Linked DNA regions of Homo sapiens: region 2 is linked to region 1. The links are contacts of gene promoters, found by promoter capture Hi-C in human tissues and cell types (Jung and others, 2019). All regions are on one chromosome and are shown on one strand. Each heading gives the region's core, a stretch centred on a gene start or on the middle of the fragment in contact. The rest is flanking DNA. Distances are from core to core; before and after follow the strand shown.

The links. Contacts are between HindIII fragments. The study calls those that stand out against the background at their distance.
Region 2: a fragment that was not itself captured here is called in contact with the fragment with the promoter of FRZB in region 1 in 1 of the 25 tissues and cell types used here (H1 embryonic stem cells).

Annotation. Positions count from the first base shown.
Region 1 is chr2:182,863,865-182,868,868 of GRCh38, reverse strand. It overlaps FRZB (frizzled related protein), which reads left to right and starts at 2,232. Exons shown (of 6, transcript NM_001463.4): 1 at 2,232-2,794. The coding sequence starts at 2,317. RefSeq lists an enhancer at 2,101-3,069. The HindIII fragment of the contact is 7,330 bases long and covers 1-5,004 here.
Region 2 is chr2:182,718,177-182,723,180 of GRCh38, reverse strand. DNAJC10 (DnaJ heat shock protein family (Hsp40) member C10) reads right to left here. Exons shown (of 24, transcript NM_018981.4): 3 at 4,891-5,004; 4 at 3,012-3,174; 5 at 1,106-1,156. Among named protein-coding and RNA genes, the nearest start is that of DNAJC10, 4.4 kb to the right of the region's middle. The HindIII fragment of the contact is 5,084 bases long and covers 568-5,004 here.

The DNA.
Region 1 (5,004 bases), core at 983-3,482:
CAGAAAAATGTATTTAGCAAACAATCTACTACATCTACTCCTGATGTTTTTTCTTCTAATTATTGAAAATCTCAGCTATATTTTTCTTATACAAAATAGTCCCAAAATGTTCTAATGTTGACTGTCTTTTAAAGTTGTTTTTCCTCTAAATTTTACTTGATAAATCATTTTAAATTCGTTTGTACAATTTTTGAATTTGTTCTCTTACATGACACTAGATAATTGTAGACCAGGCAAAGTTTGTATACTAACTGACTCCCTGTCTACCATCTGGTGTTCCCCGCCCCCGCCACCATAAGTGGAACAAACTTCCTTCCAAAAAAATTTACAGCAGTCACAAACTGCTGTTTATGATCATTTTAGATATAAAATTCCATAACTCAAGTTAGCATTGACATTTTATAAGTGCTGTCAAGTCACTCTAGGGAATGAAAATGAGCATCTCACTATGTGCTCTGAAGTGGGGACATATTTCTCTGCTTGTTATGGACGGTGAGAGATGGCTAAATTGAAGCAGAGAAATATTTCAGTGATGCAGAGCAAAGGTGACTTCCTGTTTTGTTTCAGGTTTTGTTTCCTTCTCCTCTCAATGAAGGCTGTGTTTTCTGACATTCGGCAATCCTTTTGCTCAGTGATTTCCCATTGAGAGGGCATAGTGTGAAGGCCTCTGCAGGTCATTCCATTTACAATATAAGCTGAAAGGGTAGAGTGGGGCGGGGGTGGGGGGAAGAGGGAGCTCATTAGTGGAAGAAGCAGACCAGGAGGGGATCTGTTTTCCATTTTCTCCTCCAGATTGAACTCATCTGGATGGAAAGGTTTTGATTGTTGTTATAATCATCATTATTACCTGCGTGATGTCGTTTTCCTACACTTTTTTTTTAAGTGTCGGGCAGAATTGTTGCTGAGAATAACAAATAATATCTGCCATGTTATCCGTGAGCAAAATCAGAAAAAAAAAGTCCAAGTGTATTAGAGCTGTTAGTTTCCACGTTAACCCTTAAGGAGCAAAGCTCAAGAGTTCTAATTCCACTAGGTGGGGGGGGCGGGAATAGAAGGAAAAAACCCCTTTTCCTTGCTTCTGGTGGCCTATTTGTAGTCATGAACAGCATTTCTTTGTTTCTCTCTCTCTTTTTTTTTTTTTTTAAAGGCAATCCTCCCCCCACCTCCTCCCCCGCAGTTATTGAAAATGGAGACCTCTGTAGTCACTAGCTCTGGGTTGATATGGCTCCACCGTTGCTCGCAGGGGTCTGTGTTTTCCGCTACTTGGACAAAGTGACATTGCTTAAGCCTTTCCCCCCACCAGGTCTGACTTTCTGCAGAGCCAGTGATTGCAGAGGAAAAGCTGTAGTTTGCTTAAAGGAAATACCTCCAGGAAGGAGGGTCTCGGGTGGGTTCCCAAGTGGGGAACTAGGGGGACTTTTCCGTAGGGAATTGGGGTGGGCTCTTCAGTGAGGGGCTAGGGGCTCGTTTCTGGGGCCAAAGACGGGTTCCCTAGTGTGAGGGCGCGCTCGACTCGGCGCTGTCTTGGGGTCTCGCACTCGCACGGCTTCGCACCCCACCGCCTGCGACTCCCAGGCCTTCTCTTCCCCGGGCGCCCACTCCATTCTCGGGAAGAGCAGCCGGCACTGGAGGGCAGAGACTGCCCCAGGGGCGGAGCTCCCTCTCAGGCGGGAGGTAGGAAAGTGCAGAGCCGCCCGGGCAGAGGCACAGACGTCCCTGCGGGGCTCCTCCTGAGCGTCCCTCCTGCCAGCCAGGGTCGCAGCCGCAGCGGCGGCCGCAGCTCTTAGCCCACACAGGACTTGTAAACTCTTACTGCACCCTTCTCTCCCATTAGGAGCTTTTCCTCCCTCCTTCCCCCCAACCCCTCTGTCCTCCTCACTTTGGGGAATTTAATGCTTTCTTTAGCATCTTTTTGTGTGCGTGATCTAGGGGAGGAGACACCCCAGAGCTCCAACTAGCTCTCAGCTGAATTCTACTTTTGTTTTTATGTCTTCCTCGCCTCCTCTCGTGTCCCTCTTATCTGACTGATCTGCGAAGTCTGATGCTTCTGCCAGAGGGAGAGGAATAAATAGATGTTGCTGCTTCCGAAGGCTTAGACGTTGGGAAAGAGCAGCCTGGGCGGCAGGGGCGGTGGCTGGAGCTCGGTAAAGCTCGTGGGACCCCATTGGGGGAATTTGATCCAAGGAAGCGGTGATTGCCGGGGGAGGAGAAGCTCCCAGATCCTTGTGTCCACTTGCAGCGGGGGAGGCGGAGACGGCGGAGCGGGCCTTTTGGCGTCCACTGCGCGGCTGCACCCTGCCCCATCCTGCCGGGATCATGGTCTGCGGCAGCCCGGGAGGGATGCTGCTGCTGCGGGCCGGGCTGCTTGCCCTGGCTGCTCTCTGCCTGCTCCGGGTGCCCGGGGCTCGGGCTGCAGCCTGTGAGCCCGTCCGCATCCCCCTGTGCAAGTCCCTGCCCTGGAACATGACTAAGATGCCCAACCACCTGCACCACAGCACTCAGGCCAACGCCATCCTGGCCATCGAGCAGTTCGAAGGTCTGCTGGGCACCCACTGCAGCCCCGATCTGCTCTTCTTCCTCTGTGCCATGTACGCGCCCATCTGCACCATTGACTTCCAGCACGAGCCCATCAAGCCCTGTAAGTCTGTGTGCGAGCGGGCCCGGCAGGGCTGTGAGCCCATACTCATCAAGTACCGCCACTCGTGGCCGGAGAACCTGGCCTGCGAGGAGCTGCCAGTGTACGACAGGGGCGTGTGCATCTCTCCCGAGGCCATCGTTACTGCGGACGGAGCTGGTGAGTTTTGACACGGCCCACCCTTCCCTTACCCTACAGCCTCCTCAATTCTTGGAGTCCTTGTTACTAGCCTTTACTCTCTAATTTTTTTCTCTTCGGATCACTTAATCTCTCCCATAACTGCTCCTCTATCAAAGACCCTTCTTCTTCTTTCTTCTTTTTTCAAAAACAAAAACAAAAAAACCCTCACCTTATCACCTTCCAAACTGATGCACTCTGGCACTGTGTTCCAATAGGCGATCTTTCTAAAACAATCCATGCATTCCAAACCCATCACACTTCTACTCCACAGGAATCCTTCACTTCAACTCCTTACATGTGCAAGTAGCCACATTTTGTAAAGTGATGCTCTTTTTCTTTTAAAATGTGTTTATAATCATTGGGTTTTCTTTGCTGATTCTCAGGCAATCTCAGTCATCAGGTTTCTGTATCTTTAGTGTCTTAGATGCTTGTTAAGATTGTGTGGAGGAAACAGAAAACTGAAGCCCCATTTTCTTCTAATTAAAAATGCCAAGATAATTTCAATAACCTTACTCTAACCGACAGATGTTAGGGGTATGTGTTTGCTCAAGATCCAGTTTGAGCAATTACCTTCACCTTAAATTTCCCCCTCCTTTCAATGAGATAAATTGTTCTTCCATTCCAGAATGAAACAATTGTGAAACATTGCTATGCACTGTTAATTAGCTTCTGTGGCTTGCCATAGAGCTGGCAGACTGAAATTACTGAGCTCTTTTCACATGCCCACATGCCTTCAAGTCATTTTATAAGTGGCATACAGATGAAAGGAGTTATATTTAAGGCGTGTTATCATACACTCACGTAATGTTATTTTAAATCTCACCCCTTATTCCACTCTCATGTTTTGAAAAAAAAATTGTCTTTAATACCTTATTTCATGCTCCTTTTCCGTGTGTGCACCAACCACAGTCATTTCAGTCTTTCCCTACCATAAAACTTTATTGCAGCTCTAAATTTAATGGAGTCAATCACAAGTTGTTTTCTCACTAGTGTTTAGTCTAATTATGACATTTGTAACTTTAAGACCCCAACTAAACCTACTTCATTATGGTCCATTTAATTCTAACTCAGTATTACTTCTACCAACTAACCCAACCTCAAATTTTACCCTTCATATATTTTATAAAGAAGGCAATTTTTTTTCATGAGTGGTCCTCTTTCATACCACATCCCCCACCCCCCAACAACTCTGTTCTTAGATGTGTTGACTTGGTTGCCTCCATCTGTTTATTTCTTGGGCATCAACTTTCCTTCCTCTTTCAACTTGCGCAGTCTAGGCGCATGTCCCCAGTCCATTTCCAGGTAGTAATTCTTAGTTATCGGGAAATTGATTTGGAAAAATTACCTTCTGTGCACGTTGACTCATTTAACAAAGTGAGAGAAGGAGAAGTAATTGTAAAAATAGCTGAAGGAAAAAAAATAAACAGAAGAATTTCAAGAACTTTTTAATGGTGACCTCACTTAGTTTATCACTTTTTGAATATACCTATTGTCTTCTTGATTTTAATCAAGAACCAAAAGCTAGTTGTGCAAAATCATCACAGAAATGTATTTGCTATTAATCTTTGCTAAAAGAGCATGCTTGAGGCTTCGTACTCACTAAAGTCACAGACTGCAGAGTCTGGAAGTGCTCAGTGCAGTTGCCGCTCTGGTTTGCCAGGCACTTAGAATCAGTTAAATGCAGGTGCTCCTCTCAGGCCAAGGGCTAGGAATGAGGTGGCAGTGGTTCAGGCTGAAATGCATTCCTCCCCGTAAAGCACAAAACTTGCTCTTAAACCTCCCTTAGAGGTGGACCTAGAGTGAGTGAGGTTTGGCAAGGTTAATGGCTCTCAAAAAGCCATAGTCAATATGGATAGGAAGCAGTTTCATTAAGTGTCCCTGAGTTACCAATCACTGTGGAACAAACATGGAAACAGTTGCCTCATTGAAGCACTCAAATAGGACATGCATGGAAACAATTTGTCAGTTCATGGGACCTGATTTCTAAGCTTCTTTAAAATGCCAGAGTATTTGCTTTACTGGCAGCATCCTTGCTAGAAAAATAGGTGGTAGTTGGAATCATAGTTAGTGATGGCATCCCTGCTCCCTTCCATAAGCTTCAGTGTGAACCAGAGGCTATGATGGCAAGGGGAGCTCAAAGGTGGGGGGAGGTGGAAATTGGGAATGAAGTGTGTAGATTGTAGCCTGAA
Region 2 (5,004 bases), core at 1,860-4,359, 150 kb after region 1:
GTAATCCCAGCTATTCAGAAGGCTGAGGCAGGAGAATCGCTTGAACCCAGGGGGCAGAGGTTGCAGTGAGCCAAGATCGTGCCACTGCACACTGGTCTGGGTGACAAAGCAAGACTCCGTCTCAAAAAAAAAAAAAAAAAAAAGCCACCCTTGCTTAGAAGGAACAAACTGTATAAAATCAAGTAGCTGTAATAAATTTTTAACGATAATATATGAAAAACATATAGATTTATATGTATTTTTTGCGACTGGTACGCTATTTTAGTTTTCTTTTTTTTTGTGGTGCCATCATGGCTCACTGCAATATCAGCCTCCCAGATTCACGCGATTCTTGTGCGTCAGCCTCCCAAGTAGCTGGGATTACAGGTGCGTGCCACCAGGCACACCTAATTTTTGTATTTTTAGTAGAGAGGGTTTTCCCCATGTTGGCCAGGCTGGTTTCTAACTCCTGATCTCAAGCGATCTGCCTGCCTTGGCCTCCCAAAGTGCTGGGATTATACAGGTGTGAGCCACCGCGCCTGGCTGTATTTTAGTTTTCTAAATTAAATACAATTGTGATAGAGCAATATAAAATTGAAATTTGATTTGAAGTTTAATTTATTGCTCTGAAATAGAAAAAATAAACCTATTATTACTGTACAAAGGATGAAAGTATAAGAATCTATTCTGGTATACAATTTTCTAAAATGCAATGGAAAATGCAGAACTGTATTTTTATGGCCATTTTCACACAAAGTTGCCAATCAAATTAAATCTACTTCCAAAATAACTATACCTTTATCCAAAACTCTAAAATCAAAAAGCTCTGAGAAGTTTTGCTGTAAGTTTGCAGCAAGCTCACTTGGCATCCAAACCTGATCTGAACTGATTTTTAAATTTCTTTTATTTAGTATATATACTTACACATTTTGCTACATAAATATTAATGTTTTTATTATGGTACACTTCCCCACATTCTGCTAGAAATATTTAAGATACAGTATATTACATTATTACTGTTCGAAACTCCAAAAGATTTCTAAATTTCAAACATATATATCCCCTAGAGTTTTAGATGAGATCGAACTTGTATTAGTTTTATAAAACCTTAAGCCCACAAACTTACCAAATTCTCTTCTTTCCAATGTTATGATTTCAGGATCATCATCATAAATACCTAATTTTAAAAGTATATAAAAATTATAAAATCAAAACTTCACCATATAAATTGCAACATAAAAATAGATTACTCGTTTTAATCATCAAAAAAATCAAACTACTATATTATATCTCAAACTTAGAGAATATGCAACATCCTAAGTGAAAAAAAAGTAAATAATACTATCAGTACATTTAGGGTGATCTAAAGATATTAGAATTCTGATATGGACTCTCATAGATGTGTATGCGGTAGTTCGTAATATTCACATAATTTTACCTCCATATAAAATTTATATTATGGTTTTAAAAATAATTACAGATTCAGGAAGGTGCAAAAATATAGACTCTTGTATACTTTTTACTCACCTTCCTCTAATGGTGACATGTTATGTAGCTATATAGCACAATATCGAAAACCAGGAAATTGAGAGTGGTACACTGTTAACTAGACTACAGACCTCATTTGATTTTCAGATTATATGGTTTTTAACACATGGTATCATGTTAGAATATCTTCTGCTAAAAAGCTTAGAGTATTTGCAGAGGCAGACACAAATATTTAGTAAATATACATTTTTTAGGCTTTGTGGGATGTATGGCTTCTATCACAACTTCTCAACTCTGCTCTTGAAGTGTGAAAGAAGTCACATATATTATGTAAACAAATTAAAGTAATTCCATTCCAATAAAACTTATTTATAAAAGCAAATGGCAAGCCAGATTTGGCCTATGAAATGCAGTCTGCTAACTCTTGATATAGACTATCAAGGTGTAGAGAATATACTTGAAAATACTATTTTGAAAAAAAATCATATTTACTAAAAGCAAATCCTCCAGATATAAATTTAAAATACTTCATTTAGTCTAATACAGAAGCATATTCAGTTCTTAGCCTGCATTTGAGGTTAATTAATGACTAGGAGAAACACTGGGTCTCTGAACACACCTTCCTCCCTTGATACCTGTGTGTTTACAATCTCTCTTCCTTAGTTCCTTTACTTTGTTTCCTCCTTCCACCTTATTTTTTCCTCCATGTTTAAGAAAAAAAACACCTTTCGTCCTTCTCATATGGAACCTTTATTGATAATGTTTCAAGGTATTGACCTTAATGTCAACCGAAGGCCAAAACACCTTAAAAATCAGTAAGGGTTCCATATGAGAAGGACGGCATTTCTATTGAAGAGATCATTACTAAACTTGAAGTTTCGCCTTTCTTGGACAATATGATGCTCTAAAATATATTGAAAGAAATTAATATTATTCAATACTAAAAAATACTGAAAGAAATATTTAGCTACCCCTAATGCAAACATATAGTCATACATCACTTACTAATGGGACACATTCTGAGAAATGTGTTGTTAGGGAATTTTGTTGTTGCAAAAACATCACAGAGTGTACTTACACAAACCTAGATAGTATAGCTTACTACACACCTAGTCTACAAATCTGTACAGCATGTTACTGCTGAATACCATAGGCAACTGTAACACAATGCTAAGTATCTTTGTATTTAAATATAGAAAAGGTACAGTAAAAATATGGTATTATAATTTCATGGGACCAATGTCCTACATACAATCCATTGTTAAGTGAAATGTCATTATGCAGTCCATGAATGCATATTTTTTATTAAATAGCAATCCTTATTTTAAAAGTATTTAACAAGATTTAACCAATACAACTTCATATCTGTACAGATCATCTCTGTATACCAACTGACATTCCTTTTAAATTTCACTCCCACAGCAAATTAAAAGGAGCTAATCAAAGTGACGCATCTTAAATATATAAGCTAAGTGGTGAAACAGAATTCACTTTTCTTTTACTCAGATAAAACACATTTCATAAGTAATATCGTATCACCTTACCAAAATCATAACGATAATAGTTCCAGCTTTCATACTGGCCACCTTGATTATCCTCAAGTCCCTTTTCTCCATATTTGTCATACTTTTTCCGTAGATCTTCATCTTTGAGTACTTCATATGCTCTATTTATTTTTAAAAAATCGCCATGTGCATTTGGGTTATTCTGTTAAAAAATATTAGATATAATACAATTATTTCAGATACACAATCCAAGTTTCTTCAAAACATATATGTAGGTTTAATTAATCTAGTAACTTCTGGGAGACCATATACCAACATAAGGAGGGGTAATACAACATGACATGAGTTACCATGGGTTGAAATGAAGTATTTTTTAAGAAACTATAATCTTCAAAAAAAAAAAAAAAAAAGTAAGAAAAGTAATGAAATAATTGACTCTTCAAAAGGTTGACAGACGTTATCAGACCATGAGTTATTCTTCCTAAAAAATGCAGCTGAAAATAATAAGCCTGTTGAAACTCTTAATTTCATAAATATTTTTTACTCCTATAACAATTATAAATCAATACATTTGTAGGTTATTTTTCTATTTGAGGTAAAATCAACTTAATTAAAAAAGGATGTGCCCCAATCTATCAGCTAATTACATAAAAGCCAGTATCAGAAAACACCCCAAAATCGATCCCAGTACTTTGGGAGACTGAGGAGGGTGGATCATTTGAGGTCAGGAGATCGAGACCAGCCTGGCCAACATGGTGAAGCCCCGTTTCTACTAAAAACACAAAAACTAGCTGGGCAGTAGTGACGCACGCCTGTAATCCCAGCTACTCAGGAGGGTGAGGCAGGGGAATTGCTTAAGCCTGTGATGCAGAAGTTGCAGGAAGCCGCTGGCGTCACTGCACTCCAGTCTGGGCAAGAGAGTGAGACCCTATCTCAAAAAAAAAAAAAAAAAAAAAAAGAAAACAATCCAAAATTGGATCGGAAATGTTTCTTCCTTGTTACTGTGCTTCATAAAATTTGTTTCTGAAGGATGCTTTCATTTAAATAATACTCGGATGGTAGAAGGTCTACTGTCTTTTATATGGAAACTTAAAAATCATTATTTGAAATTTTAAAGAAAAATTAAAAAAAAATAAAAACCTTAAATAGAATGTGGATCTTAGGAAAAGATAATCAACTAAACAATATTTAAAGAAATATTGTTTCTCTTGCTCAGCTTTATGCAATGAAAATAATCCTATTTTAAAACTTCTACCTAGAAAAGAGAAAATTATAACTATGTCTTCTTGTTAATGATGAACGCTAAATCTCACTAAGAAATAATCAAATAAATTACAAAAACACCATAAAAATTAAAATGAGTTTAGTTTTGAAAGATTTACATTAATGTGTACATAAATATTTATGACTGGCATTATATTCAGCTGCTGTGAAGTATTAATTTATAAAACTTTCTAACTCTGGTTTGTGGACTTGTGCATACACAGAAGAAAACAGTCAAAGTTAAAACATGCTATTATTAGCTATTACTTCTATTTTTAGCAAGTCATACCCTCTGAGTTTTAAAAAAATATTTTTGTTCCTGTTCTAAAACACTTGATCTTAACCTACTTTAATAAGAAAACTACTTCAACTACTTCACGGATATTATCGTTTGTTTTGGGGTTAATGTCTTTAATAGAATTGTTGGAAAATCGTCTACAAATTAAGAGGGAACTGAATTTTTGGTACTGACATTCCTTCACGGGATCCTAAATAATCCAGAACATTTTGGTGCTTTTGTTTCTAGCATACAAGTTGAATTATAATTTTGACATATGATTATTCTTAAGCATTTGATCATTTAAAGCAATTTAAATAAATATCAAAATGTACCAAAAATATAATCAAATATTTTTAAAAACAAACGTTTACCTACCGGGTTTTTATCAGGATGTAACTTCAATGCCAATTTCTTGAAAGCTTGTCTTATTTCTCTACTGCTTGCAGTTTTGGACACTCCAAGTAAACTGTAAAAATCCTGATCTGTGCC